2 separate regions of the Homo sapiens genome follow, and region 2 is linked to region 1. Evidence: promoter capture Hi-C in 16 types of primary human blood cells and fetal thymus (Javierre and others, 2016). All regions are on one chromosome and are shown on one strand. The core of a region is centred on a gene start or on the middle of the fragment in contact, and the rest is flanking DNA. Distances in the headings are between cores, read along the strand shown. Region 1 holds the start of BMP4 (bone morphogenetic protein 4). Region 2 overlaps LOC105370507 (a long non-coding RNA gene).

Region 1 (6,210 bases), core at 1,778-4,277:
CCAGCTCGAACCCGGCTTAAGTGGGGCCGGGAGCGAGGTCGGGAAAGTCTCACCCGCCCAAAGCCTCACCACCGAGAGGCACTTAAAAAGGAAAGCGCAGAGGGACCCTGCCCACGCGCGTGTACACACACACCCCCCCACACACACACAAGCAAACACGAGCTCCCCGCCACTTCCTCCCCAGGGTCTCCTCAAGGCCAAATATTGCTCCCAATGACAGCCAGTCACCCCTTGGCGAACGCCTGCTAAGGCTCCGAAGAGCCGGGCCACCGATCTAGCTCCCGGCTGAAAGCAGCCGACCTTGTCACGCGCGGGGCCGGGAATGGGAGGGAGGGTGTTAGAGGGTGATCGCTGTGGGAAAGTGAGAGGGAGCGGCTGTTAGTCATTGCTCCGGGTCCATTACCGAGAATCCCCAAACCTAGTCCGCCGCTGCGTGGCCCCTCTCCCCATGCAAAGCAGACCCCCGAAGAAGCCATGCCAGGCTGAGGGACAGACGCCGGGGCTCGAAGCTCCGGGCAGATTCAGAAAGAGGCGTCGCTGCAGAAAGGACGCATCACAGTTTTCAGATCTTAATGTGGCCGAGGTTTTACAACTCCCGACCCGGCGCAGAAAGGAAATCCCACCATGTTCCCCGGAGTCGAGAAAACGGTGAACAGCTTTCGGCCTGCGCTCGACCTCTGCGTCTGCGTCTCTCTCGCCTCGGCTTCCCTTATTTTTTAAACCACCACCACACTCCTTCCCCCGCCACTTCCTTCCCCCACCCCCTTCCTCCGTTGCACCAGCAGCAGAGTCGCACGCAGCAAATACTCCTTCAAGAATTTTACCTACCTACAGTTCAAGCAGTTACTGGGATGTCCTGACTAATCGAAGATGCTGCCGCGCGCGTGGGTCGCTCTGCGCAAGGGCCTCTTCGAAAACCCGACTAGGCGCAACTCAGCGTTCAGCAGGGCCGGGAGCGCCAGGTCGTCCCCGGGGCCCGGGCCCCATGACTCCTGCCCCAAAGCCCACTCCACCCGACCTCCCTTTCCTGAGGCTGTTCCCAGTTGCTGCTTTGGGTCGCTCCGGAGCTCAAGAACTCGGGTTGCCTGCCGCCCCACTCTCCACGCACATACTTGGTTTTCTTCTTAGGGGCATTGGCAGGTAGACTTTGAGGAAGAAAAGTAAAGGATCGAACAGCTCAGCCCTCCCTCCCGACCGTGGATGCCCGGAGTCGACCAACACCTCAGGTCCGGGTGCGGAGGCCGCGGGCGCCCCTGCGCGACCGTCCGCGCCCGGCAAGAGCCGCGCGGCTTTCGCCTTTGCTGGTCCCGCGCCACCGCTGGGGCGGGCTGCGAAAGGGTTGGGAAGAGCAAAGGGTTTTTTTGTTTTGTTTTGAGACGCAGAAGCCCTTTAAAAAGCCCGGCGAGGAGAGGTCCAGAAGTAGAGAAAGCAGACGGAGGCAAGCTGTGCCCGCGGGGCAAAGGGACAGTAGAAGGGGCGGGCGCCCGGGTTCCCCGGAAAACCCTCGGCCCCAAGGAATCTCCTGGGGCGGGAGAGCGCGGTTCTAAAACCGAGAGGATAGGAAGGGGAAGGGGGAGTTGTGTTTCAATTTCGGATTCACCAGGATTCATCTCTAGTCACATTTTTCTTCTCAAATTTTTAAATCGAAAAGATAAAAGCCAAAAGAACTTTCATCCCCAGAGCTTTTTATTGGGGGAAAGGAATGTAACTCGGGGTGGTTGTCCTTCACTTCCCTACTCGAATCTTCTCCTAATGCCGAAATGTGTTTACAGGTAGCCTCAGTTTACCAAGTATGTATCTTTTGGGGGTTTAACCTCTCACAAAGCCTTCAACTCACAAACCGCGATCCTTGGAAACCATCCTCCAAAGCAGTGCTTGGAGGCCTCTAAGGCCCCCGGACCAACTCCCGCTGGAAGAAGCCTGCAGGGACTCGGGAATCACGGGAACCTTTCCCGTCGGTTCCGGGCCTGGAGGGCCAGGAAGAGCCGCGCGTCCGCCTTTCGTCCCGCCAGGAACTCCCCATAGGACACGACACCGCAGGAACAAGCGTCCTGGGAGCCCCTGGGATCTTGGCTGTCGTCTCTAGGGACCCTACACCGTGAAATGATAGAGGCGAGGTTCCTTGGGTTCCGCAAGTCGACGAAAATAGCTCGTGGAGAAGGCGCGTCCTGCAACTGCAGTTCGCAAGCTCTCAGGGCGCCCCGCCAGCTGGGGGCCAGATTGGGTGACACTCCCCTCGACGCAGCCTCCGGAGCGGCGCGCACTCTCCAGAGGCCAGCAGGACTGCGCTCTCTACCGCAGAACCTGCTCCAGCTAGGTGTTCTCTCCCCATCTCGCCGTCGCTCTGCCCCCTCACTCTCTCTGGACCTCAGAGCCGGTTCTCTCCTTCCTCCTCCCGCGCTTTCCGTCCGGGGATCGCAACCTCCAGCCCGTGGGCAACGCGTTCAGCCCAAGACCCCACAGTTTTTCCCAACGACCCCCCTACCAAGGGCTTCTCTTGTTTCTGCTCTCCTGCCCCGCACTTCCCAAAGGTGAGAATCTCCCAGGGACTGCTGGACAGAGAAGGCCTGGGCAGGGGCAGTAGCCGATATTTAAAGGTCTTTCAGCGCCAGCATCCCCACCTCCAGCACCACTATTGGAAAATAATTAGGCCACCTTTTGCCTCGGTCACAGCCTGTGACCAGCTTCTTCCCCCCAAGGAGGCTCCTAGACCCCCTCTGCCTGTCTCCCCTCACCAGGTAGCCTTGCTCACCATAGGTCCCTGCAGTAGCGGGCTCGCCAGCAGCAGCTCCTGGGGACCTCTGAACGGTTGCAGTGAACCTGGGCGAGGGCCGGGGACTGTGGCGCTGCAGGCTCGAGATAGCTTGGACGGGAATCCCATCGGGGAGACAAGCTAGATACTCAGCCGGAGCAGCAGCGGCGTCTCAGGCTCGCGTCCCTCAGCTCGGATGCCACACTCACCTAGCTTCCGGGCCGGGCTCCGCGCTCCTTCCCTCCCTCCCTCCTCCTCTGCCTTCTCGCATCTTCCTTCCTCCTCTTTCCCTCCCTCGCTTTCTTTCTTTCCTTCCTCCTCCTCTTCCCCGGCGGCCCCTCCCTCCTTCCCTCCTCCCTCGCTCGCCTCCCTTTCTGGGGATGGGAGCCCCGCCCACATCCTCCCCTCCAGCCGCCCGACCTCGCCTAGCAGGCCCGGGTCCCGGAAGCCCAGGCAGCGCCCGAGTCCGCAGCTGCCGTCGGAGCTGGGACGCCGCTGCCTCCAGCTCTGGGAAGCGGCTGGGGCTCACCTGGGGACCACGTGCGGAGGTACTAGAAAGCATGCACCGACTAGTCGCCGTACCTTCCAAAAATACCCATGGGAGTCTGGGCTTCCCTGAGTTTAGTGTAACTGCTGCCCAAACTGATGATTAAAACACTGAGTAATCACCATTTACCCTGAGTAATTAGAGATAATGAAACACCTCTAAAATCAGGTTATGGAGAAAGGAGCTGTTGGATCGGTTTAAAAGGTGGCCTTCCATAAACTGTTAAAAGATTTCCAAACGTTGAGAAACAGGCTGTGTGCAGAACTGTGTGCCAGAGAGAGATACCTCTTGGGCTGTTAAAAGGTGAATTTCCTTCCAAAACATTCTTAAAGTGCGTTTTGTAGAACACCTTGGTGATGACCCTGAGGTAGACCCCAGTAAATGAGCTCACTTCCCTCCTCCCCCCAAGGCCTAAAGACAGAGGTGGCCTGCAGACAGGCTGGGGCCACGTTTTTTACAGTTAGAAAAATCTGTTTCTAGCTCAGAAGCCGTCTTAAGAACCGACACAGCAGTTATTTTTGTTGGTGTTATGGTTGTTGTTGATTTTTTTGTTCATTTTTGGTGTACCTAAGAGTCCTGACACTCTGTCTTTCCAAGGAGATAACCACAGAAGCAGTAACCTTTTAGGCCACAGGGAGACAAGAAAAGATGCCCCTTGGTCTGTTTTTAAAGGAAGAGGGGAGATGAGGAATTGGCCCTTTCATATAAAAACATTTTAGTAATCATATTAGCAGGGAGGTGGAATGTGGTGGCTTTTAAACCTTCCCAAACAGGAACTAATTTCACACACTGCCTCTGATGGAGCTGTGAGGGAGCTATCAGCCTCATCTCTCTGTTTTACAAACAAGGAAAGGCAGGACTACCAGGTTAAAGGGACTTGCCCAGATCTCTGAAGTAAATCACAGCCTCTGCTCCAGAGCTAATGCTTCAGGGAGGGGTTGAGGCTCATAGCCTGAGCTCCAGGTAGCCAGAGGAGTGCTGGAAGACTGAGCATTTCCTGTCCTGGATTTCTTTCCCTGGGACAGACATGACACTTTACTGTCTCTGCAAAGCATTTAGGTCTTTACTTAAACAGATATTGGCCCTGGGTGGCTCATCTATAAAAACTTTACGTTTATACACCTTCGATATTTAAAAAACAAGAACTACTTCCTGTGTGGAACACAGATTACAAAGGGTGGGAAATATCTGAGATCAGAGAAGCAACTGTCAGAGCAAGGCCAAGACATCCTGCCATCTTTTCCATCTATTAGGCCTAGGTCTTTTGGCCTAATGCACCAAACAACAGAAACAAGCTGTATGGCTTTGGGCAAGTCTTTTCATTCCTATGAGTCTCAGTTTTCTCATCTGCAGAATGAAAGGATTGGGCCAGATCATCTGCATGCTCCCTTTATATTTGAAAATGATTTGATTATTTAATTGTAATTTTAGCCAAAGTCCGTCTTCCTTCATTTTAAGTCACTCCTGAGTTCACTTTCTCTAAGAACCACTGATTAAAACAGGGCAGGGCAATAACACCACCCCAAAAGGAGGACAAAATATACCTGTAGCTTCCAAATAGTCAAAATCACAATTAATTATTAAAAATAATAACAGAAAATTAAAACTCCATTAAATAGTTACCTAATGTTTCTCCTGCAGCATCAGGCATTGTGCTCCTTTAGCATGGTACCTGAAGTCAGGACAGATTAAATGCTCACTGAGCCCCTAAATCAATCACTGTTGTTTTAATCATTAACGAAATGTGGTTCTTAATATTTAAACTCAGAAACAACAGTGATATGCTGGACTTAAAGGCAGGACTTTATTTTACTTTAAAGCACCAATGTCATTTCGGGGTTTTTTTAATTCCAAAGGTTTTTGAATGACAGCTATTGTCTCATTTTGCTGCAGCCCAGACACTAAAGTGGCCACTGATTGGCCCATCCATGAGTCTGTGACACTCACAGTCCAGGAGTTTCCAATTAAGCTACCCGACATACCATGTTTAGACCCCTGATATGAATCTTCAGATATATGACGAGAGAACTCAGCTTTAGTTCTCTTGGGACAGCTTTATTTCTCTCCCCACATTTTAGATGGGCGCAAGCCATCTGTTATCAGCTGCTTTTACCCACTCCTCCTTTTCCCCCCTTACTCATGCCAAAGAACAAATTACTTGTTGGTTAGAGAGCTAAATCAACCACAGCCTAGTGATCAGAGTTCGTGAGAAGAATCAGTTTAGTTATTTTCTGTATCTCAAACTTACCTGTGAATTTTCATGTTTTTATAGAACATGGTAGATAGACCAAATGAAACTGTACCCTTAAAGCACATTGATGAAGAGGGGAAACCCACCATAATTCAGGAGCAACTATTGCTCCTATGCTGCTACTACTCAATGAAAGGCATTCCTTTGTTGGGTTTTTCCTGGAGAACATCAAGAAAGAGTAGCTGGTCAATAGCCTGTCTGCGAGCCCTTGGGACAGCCTTTTTCAAAGCATGTTCTCAGGACTATAAGCCTCAGAGTAGGGTGGGGGTGCAGATGAAATGCAGACTTCCTGGTCCTGCCCCAGATCTGGACCCAGAAATCTGTATATTTCACAAGGTTCTCTGGTCATTCTGAGCACACTAAAGCTTGAGAGCTACTGTTTTAAAAGTTATTTTGTTTCCATTTTCTATGCTGATAAGTACCATTAAAAGGCTGATACCAAGACATCATTAAACAGGCAAAGAATATGCTGGGCTTGAACTTTATAAACTGTTAAATATGGCAATTATAGTATCACTATGCCCTGAACACACCAAATAGGTCTATGCAAGTGAAAAGATAATCCTATAGATACAGTAGCCCTTAATTCCCCATCCCCAATTAAGAACCACATCAGGTCTTCAAACCTTCTTGGCCAATTAGGTGTCTGGTGAAGCTACG
Region 2 (6,403 bases), core at 3,778-6,277, 220 kb after region 1:
GCACTCAAGAAGTCTTTAAAATAAAATCATCAAACAGTATTATTTGTTGGAAATGACATTCAACCGCAATTTCTTTGTGACTCCTCAGTCATGCAAACACCACAGCATTAGGTGCACACAAGCCAGAGACATTATAGGTCAAGCCCTCTGATGAAGGAACCACCACTGTCTACAAGAACACATTTTTAGGAGAGAAGTAAAATGATAGCTCCTTCTGCAAGAGAAGAAATTTATATTGGAAATCCAGAGCACAGTGCCAGGTACCCTGTGAGCTTGGCAAATATTAGTCCAGAGCGACTAAGGACTATAGATTTTGATTTTCCCCATATATCCCTCCTGGGCATCTGTCCCATTTGCTCCTGCCCAGTCCCGCAGACTTGCCTATCACTGCAGTTTTTGTCCCTGGTCCCAGATGATTATGCAACACTTATGCAAGATGCAAGGAGTAAAATGAACCCATTTGCCTATCGATATAGTTTTATTTCAGTGAATTAATGTCACTAAGAGAGAAACATATTCTAATGCCTAGGACAGTTGTGGTCCTTTTTGTATCTCTGTCATTGGGCTAGTGTCTTTGCCTACCTATAATGTAAATATATTATAGAGCAATATTACATATAATGCAAAGATAATCCAGACTACTTGCTCTGCTTTAGAAATGAACTGTGAGGATCAAATTTGTACAAACATGGGTCAAGCAAAAGCATACAGACTCTAGTGAAACCTAGAAAGTGTTTTTGGAATATTTTTGCTACAGATACTTTTCTATTAGGCTTTTATTAAATTGAAAGTAGTGTTGTTCTTATTTAGGTGTTAATTATTAAATTATGTACAAGTTTAGAAACTAGGCCATTGAAACACATAAAAGGTAGTTATTGAAAGCTAATCATAATAAGCTGTTGTCAACCTCTACTGAATAAAGAAGCAAAACATTTTAAATACATTGGAAATTTATATAAAACGAAGAACTTCCTGACAATGAAGATTGTTAAACATGAGTCCCTGCAACAAATGTCCTAAATAACTATTCCCAGGAAACTCTAAGATTGGGCTGCCTTAGGTGGTTTAAAAATATGGTCAGAGGCATGAGGAACTATTTCTAGATTTCTTATTGAAGTCCCTTTAAATAACATGGGTCTTCAGTCAACACATATGCTTGTACATGGGTGCCTGTTAGGGAATTCAGAGTCATAAGCAAACCTTGGAAAATGGACTTGATAGCTCAAAGCTCAAAGTTGCACATTCATAAACAAAATGTATGTACTTTTCTCTATATGACGAGATGGCTACAATCACCACTCTAAGCTGAAAAGTGGTATAAGAAAGGCTGGTGAGAAGACAAATTAATACCAATAAGATCGCTGATCTGTAGAGAAATAGAAAAGGCAAAGGGGCTCTTGAAAATAAAAGTTATTTGTTCCTAAATCCTGCTTCTTTGCTTGAAGCTATTTCTTAAGAAAGAAGCTGCTTCCTTCCCTAACCGTATAAAATGATCCCTGAAGTTATTTATAGTGTTCATGGCCTGGAGGCATCACTTGGTTCCCCCACCACAAGCCCAACCATGTGTTACTATATTAAAAAATGTGAAAAAGTAATTATGGGGTATGGGAGCCAGTGTCTGCAGACACAACCTGCCAAAGAGGAAGTGACAGGAAACTTATGCTCCTTGTTGCTGCTCAAGCACTGCCCAGGCTCCAGACTCAGAAGAAGGGAATCTGTTCCAAGAAATAGGAGAGAGGCCTGCCCTGGTGAATCAGAAATATCCCTGTTTCTGAATATACAGTAAACTGGTTTCCATTCCTGGGTCCCCTCAGTTGGTCAAACTTTCCAGTCACGTGGAGAGACCACTCACAGCATCCTCCCTCAGCAACTCAGCCAGATGGCTGCCTCAGCTCCCACCAGACCGGGCAGGCTAGAACATGTAAGGTTCTGAACTTGGGCAAGAGTCTAAGGTCACTATAACTGGCCCCTAAGACTCTGACCTGCCACTGTCAGATCTCAAGTTCTGCCACCTTATCCTAAATCTAGCTTTGTTGTTCCTCTTCCCACTTCCATCCCCAGTTCCTTGCCCTCAGGTAGGATGCGATAATCAATCTATTACTGATTTCTACAGCAGTCCTCCACATATTCACAAACCCCTCAGCTTTCCTCTGGAACAATGGACTCCACCAGCATAGGGACACAATTGTTTTCTACCGCTGGAGGCAGAGAGGAAAAGTAGCTCAAACATCTGCCCCCAGAGAGCATAAATTTGTCAGGGAGAGAAGTCCACATTTCTGCAGAAAGGCCAGTGTTCCCAAGAGGCCTTAGCTTAGGAAATGTTTATTGAGAGGAATTACATTTCCTTCTCAGGACCTGCCTCTGCCTCTGGTCTAAGCTACAAAAGAAGTTTTCTTCTGATGTCTCAGGAAAAAAGAAAAAAGCACCAACCCTCACAAAAGAACCCTGGTAGTATGGACAATTCCTACTATCTCAAGAAGATTTCACTTGGAAGTAAATAATCGTTGCCACCTCTGAATTCAATTTGATTACCTAGATAAATCACTACATGAACTTCCAAAGAAGCAAACTTTACCCCAAAAAGTATGTTATAAAAGTTGATTTACAGAAGTCTCTTTCAAATAAATTCTTAAAGAGAATCATAGACAACAAAGAATGCAGAAGCTAATGCAGGTCAAGAAAATGTCCTTACTATCTCTTTAATATAATAAAATAAATCAAATTAACATGTTTCCTTAGTGAATAATATTCTCTAAGCATGAAATGTAATTTTTAATACTTTATATACACCAGGCTTGAGTTCCTATTTTACATGCTATGGTTTTAGAATATGTGTAAATGTTTATTTCTAAAATTACCTAAAAATCTTCTGTTCAAGTTTGTTTTTCAACTCAGGGCAGTAGCATATAAGTAGAATTTAAGCAGATATCAATTGTATCACTGGAAAGACTTTAAAAATCAGAGAAATGTTCTTATAAGGCAAATCCATGGCAGCCTTCCACATTCAGAGACTGGTTTATAGCTTTCTGAGATGCCCTGTTAACCTCTCAAAGATCTGTAGACTAGCTTATATTATCTCATTATCCGAGTTCTCCCCGCTTTCATCTTTGCCTCCTATATCCCAGTTTCTTCACCACTGTAGTATCCACAGTGCCACCTGCTGGTTGTAGAAAGTATTTTTGTGGCTCCAAGGTCTCCCTCCGGGATTTGTTTAATTAAAGTCTACCAATGACTGCTAGAAAAGCCACAGCCATAGTGGACAAATCCATGAAATGAGCAAAATGTCAATTCATGAAGGGTTAACATGACCCAACATATGCTGAGGCAAAGTTTTGGCTATTTTAAAGGCAAACCTAAGTTGCCTGAGTTAAACCTAACACATGCAAATTTGCCTCAGGCAGCTTGGCAATAGGGCTCTGTGTAAGAATACAAAAAAAAAATGATTACCAAGACTAAATGCCTCAGAAAGTTTCCAAAATCCTTTATTTCCTCGTACCTGTCAATCCTAGACTTCCACTTTTTTTTTCTTTTCTTAGACAAGTATTTTCAACTTTCCAAAGGTATGAAATTTGCCATCTTAATTGTTTAGACAGGAATAAAGCATTAACTCAGTCCCTTGACTTTGATTCATAGCAGCTCTTCCTTCACCAAAAGTTACAGTCTCCCTCTCCACCCCAGCCTGAAGTCTGTGGACCAGCACAGAAATGACAGGCACCAGAGCATCTGCAGGCATGTGAAAATGCAGTGCTCCCTTCCCATACTTAACCTTTCAGATGGTTCAACTATTTCCCATGTGTCAACAATCGCCATTCGCATCTTAGGCCTTAACCAGGCAAAAGATAAGAGAGAATAACCTTTAGAACCCACAACTAGCCGGACGCGGTGGCTCATGCCTGTAATCCCAGCACTTTGGGAGGCCGAGGTGGGCGGATCACTTGAGGTCAGGAGTTTGAGATCAGCCTGGCCAACATGGTGAAACCCTGTCTCTACAGAAAAATACAAAAATTAGCCAGGTGTGGTGGTGCGTGATTGTAATCCCAGCTGCTTGGGAGGCTGAGGCAAGAGAATCACTTAAACCCAGGAGACTGAGGTTGCAGTGAGCTGAGATCGTGCCACTGCACTCCAGCCTGGGCAACAGAGCAAGACTCCGAAAAAAAAAATATATATATATATAAAGAAATAACTAACAACTAACGAATAAGAAGTCATTCCTGCAAGCCTCATCATGATGGGGTACAGTAAGGCACAGGGAAAATGTTTTTGCCTTAAGACTCCTGACAAGGATTAATCAACTTTTTTAACAATCCCCTGGGGTGTAGACTGGCACAGGGTCATTACCCCTCTTTAGCAGGTGGGCGAACTAAGATCCACAAAGTTTACCATTTCATCATCAATTCTGTTCAGAATATCATCAATTCGCTGACATTCTGATGCGACAGTGAAAAAAAGGTGCTGCAAGAAGCTTCTCAATAACTAAGCTTAATGCAGAAAATATACCCAAGTCAGGAGGTACAAATACACTGGACAAGTATTGACCCAACTCGTAGTCATTTTATCAGAACAGGTTATTTGAGAAACGTAGTCATTTTATCAGAACAGATTATTTGAGAAACGTAGATTCTCTACCTATGAATCTGCAAGATTTAGATTAGATTATAACTGAGTAATCATTTTTAAGAAATTATTGTGTCTATTGGCATTCAGTTGAGGGGGTTTCCTTTTTCTCTTCACTCTTCACTCACTCCCATTTAAAGGCTAAACATGGAACTGCAGATAGAGGACAGAGATCACAAATGTTCACCTTTAGCTCTATCTGGCACATTCTCCCATTTTAATTGTCTTTGCTTTTGTGTTCCCCTTTCTAAAAGTATAAACTATATCCTGACATTTTCCTGCCTTCTGCCAAATTCGGAAACTGTCACGTTTTCTTTTTTTCTTTTGGTCTATAAACTTCAAAATATTTTCTGTCAAGCTGGCAAAGCTCCAATCTGCCCTTCACCGCTGCAATTAAAGTGATTTTCCATCTGAATATAACCCTGACATGGAGAGGAATTATAAGAGTTCTATATAAATCTATTTTGATAGATTAGTTCCCTCACTGAGCATATTTTTGTACTCATCACAAGCATTTATACATATCCAGATTATTCTAAGAATTGTGAATCAAAATAAGAGCAGGGTTACTACTAAAAGGAAAAGCTGAATTTTGGGTCCCCCTTTAAAAGAAGCAATAACCTAGAAAGCAAAAAACAAAACAAAACCCAAAGAAATATTTTATTTATTTCACACAGATGTAACGAAATAACCTAAAACCATGGTAGAGCCAGATAAAGTCAAACCATACATACAACCTAGAGGAGATGGTGCAGCAGAGAATACTGTTATAAAGCATTATTCTTATGTCATCATGGCTTCCAGAAAATACTCAACGCTCCAATATTTGTCCACTTAATACAGGATTCACTTCTCAGCCGAGGAGGACCTTAGTAACAGTACACTTAGCACTCAGCAGTTATTTGACCTATTTTACTAATGTGTTTGGGAAGGAGGTTAATTAAAAGTGGATGGCTATATCCTTAAGCTTAATTTTTCCAACAGCCCTGCTCATAAAAGGAAAAATTTAGTATGTATTGAAGGAAGCAAGCAATTAAGTTGCACAAATAGTGAGCTCATTGAACTGCGGCTGACTTCTATCATGTCAAAGAACAACTAAACACAGAAGCAATAAAAAGATTGTTGCCACGACCACCACTGAGAACCGACTGGCAATAAAGATGAATAACTTCCTACTTGAAGATTACTGATTAAAGCTTTTTAGAAACCAAATGTTACACATAGGCATAAATGGAGCAAAATATTTTAATGCGTGTTTGGCAGGTTCAGAAACACTTTATAGTCAATTTTAAATGAAGGTTTATACAACAACAGTAAACTCCACTTAAAACAGCCTTTCCAATTGCTGCTGCTGCAAGAAAGCTGCAGTGCTCCTCAGGAAGGCTTGAGTCATAACTGTGGAATAAAAGTCCCATACCTAACAGTAAGGGGAGGGTCGATGGGGAGTGGAATTCCACAGGACCAAGTCCTCTGAAATCAAACCCAAGAGCAGAGCCAGAGAAGTCCATTCAGATGCCTGTGACCCTTGAAGGCAAGTAAACAGACTCCCTATAGCAATAACCAGGAAATCTCTCTCTCCCCGGCAGCCCTCTGCTCCTCTTCCCACCTCTCAAAGCTCCCAAAGGTCAAGTTTTAGCCCAACCTGCCCTTCAAGAAAGTGCACTCACATCTAGGAGTTCAACACAGGTTGGCATCAGAATTGGCTCCCAGGACTATCAGTGTCAGTGAGGTGGGACGGGCATGATTTGACAAGGAAAATGTGTCTGACAGAGGATTTGGCTCTCAACTT

Evidence for each region. The method cuts DNA at HindIII sites, captures the fragments that hold promoters and counts their contacts. A CHiCAGO score of 5 or more calls a contact.
Region 2: a contact is called between a fragment that was not itself captured here and the fragment with the promoter of BMP4 in region 1, in 2 of 17 cell types (endothelial precursors and fetal thymus). The highest score is 11.3, in endothelial precursors.

What each region holds. Positions count from the first base shown.
Region 1 is chr14:53,953,798-53,960,007 of GRCh38, forward strand. It overlaps BMP4 (bone morphogenetic protein 4), which reads right to left and starts at 3,028. Exons shown (of 4, transcript NM_001202.6): 1 at 2,753-3,028. LOC124903317 reads left to right here and starts at 385. Exons shown (of 2, transcript XM_047432035.1): 1 at 385-2,531. The coding sequence starts at 2,104. RefSeq lists promoters at 1-459, 631-1,926, 631-951, 2,854-4,972, 2,854-4,196 and silencers at 2,152-2,261, 2,911-2,990. The HindIII fragment of the contact is 12,206 bases long and covers 1-5,913 here.
Region 2 is chr14:54,172,364-54,178,766 of GRCh38, forward strand. The region is part of intron 4 of LOC105370507 (a long non-coding RNA gene); the gene reads right to left. Among named protein-coding and RNA genes, the nearest start is that of BMP4, 220 kb to the left of the region's middle. RefSeq lists a silencer at 5,528-5,822. The HindIII fragment of the contact is 1,103 bases long and covers 4,477-5,579 here.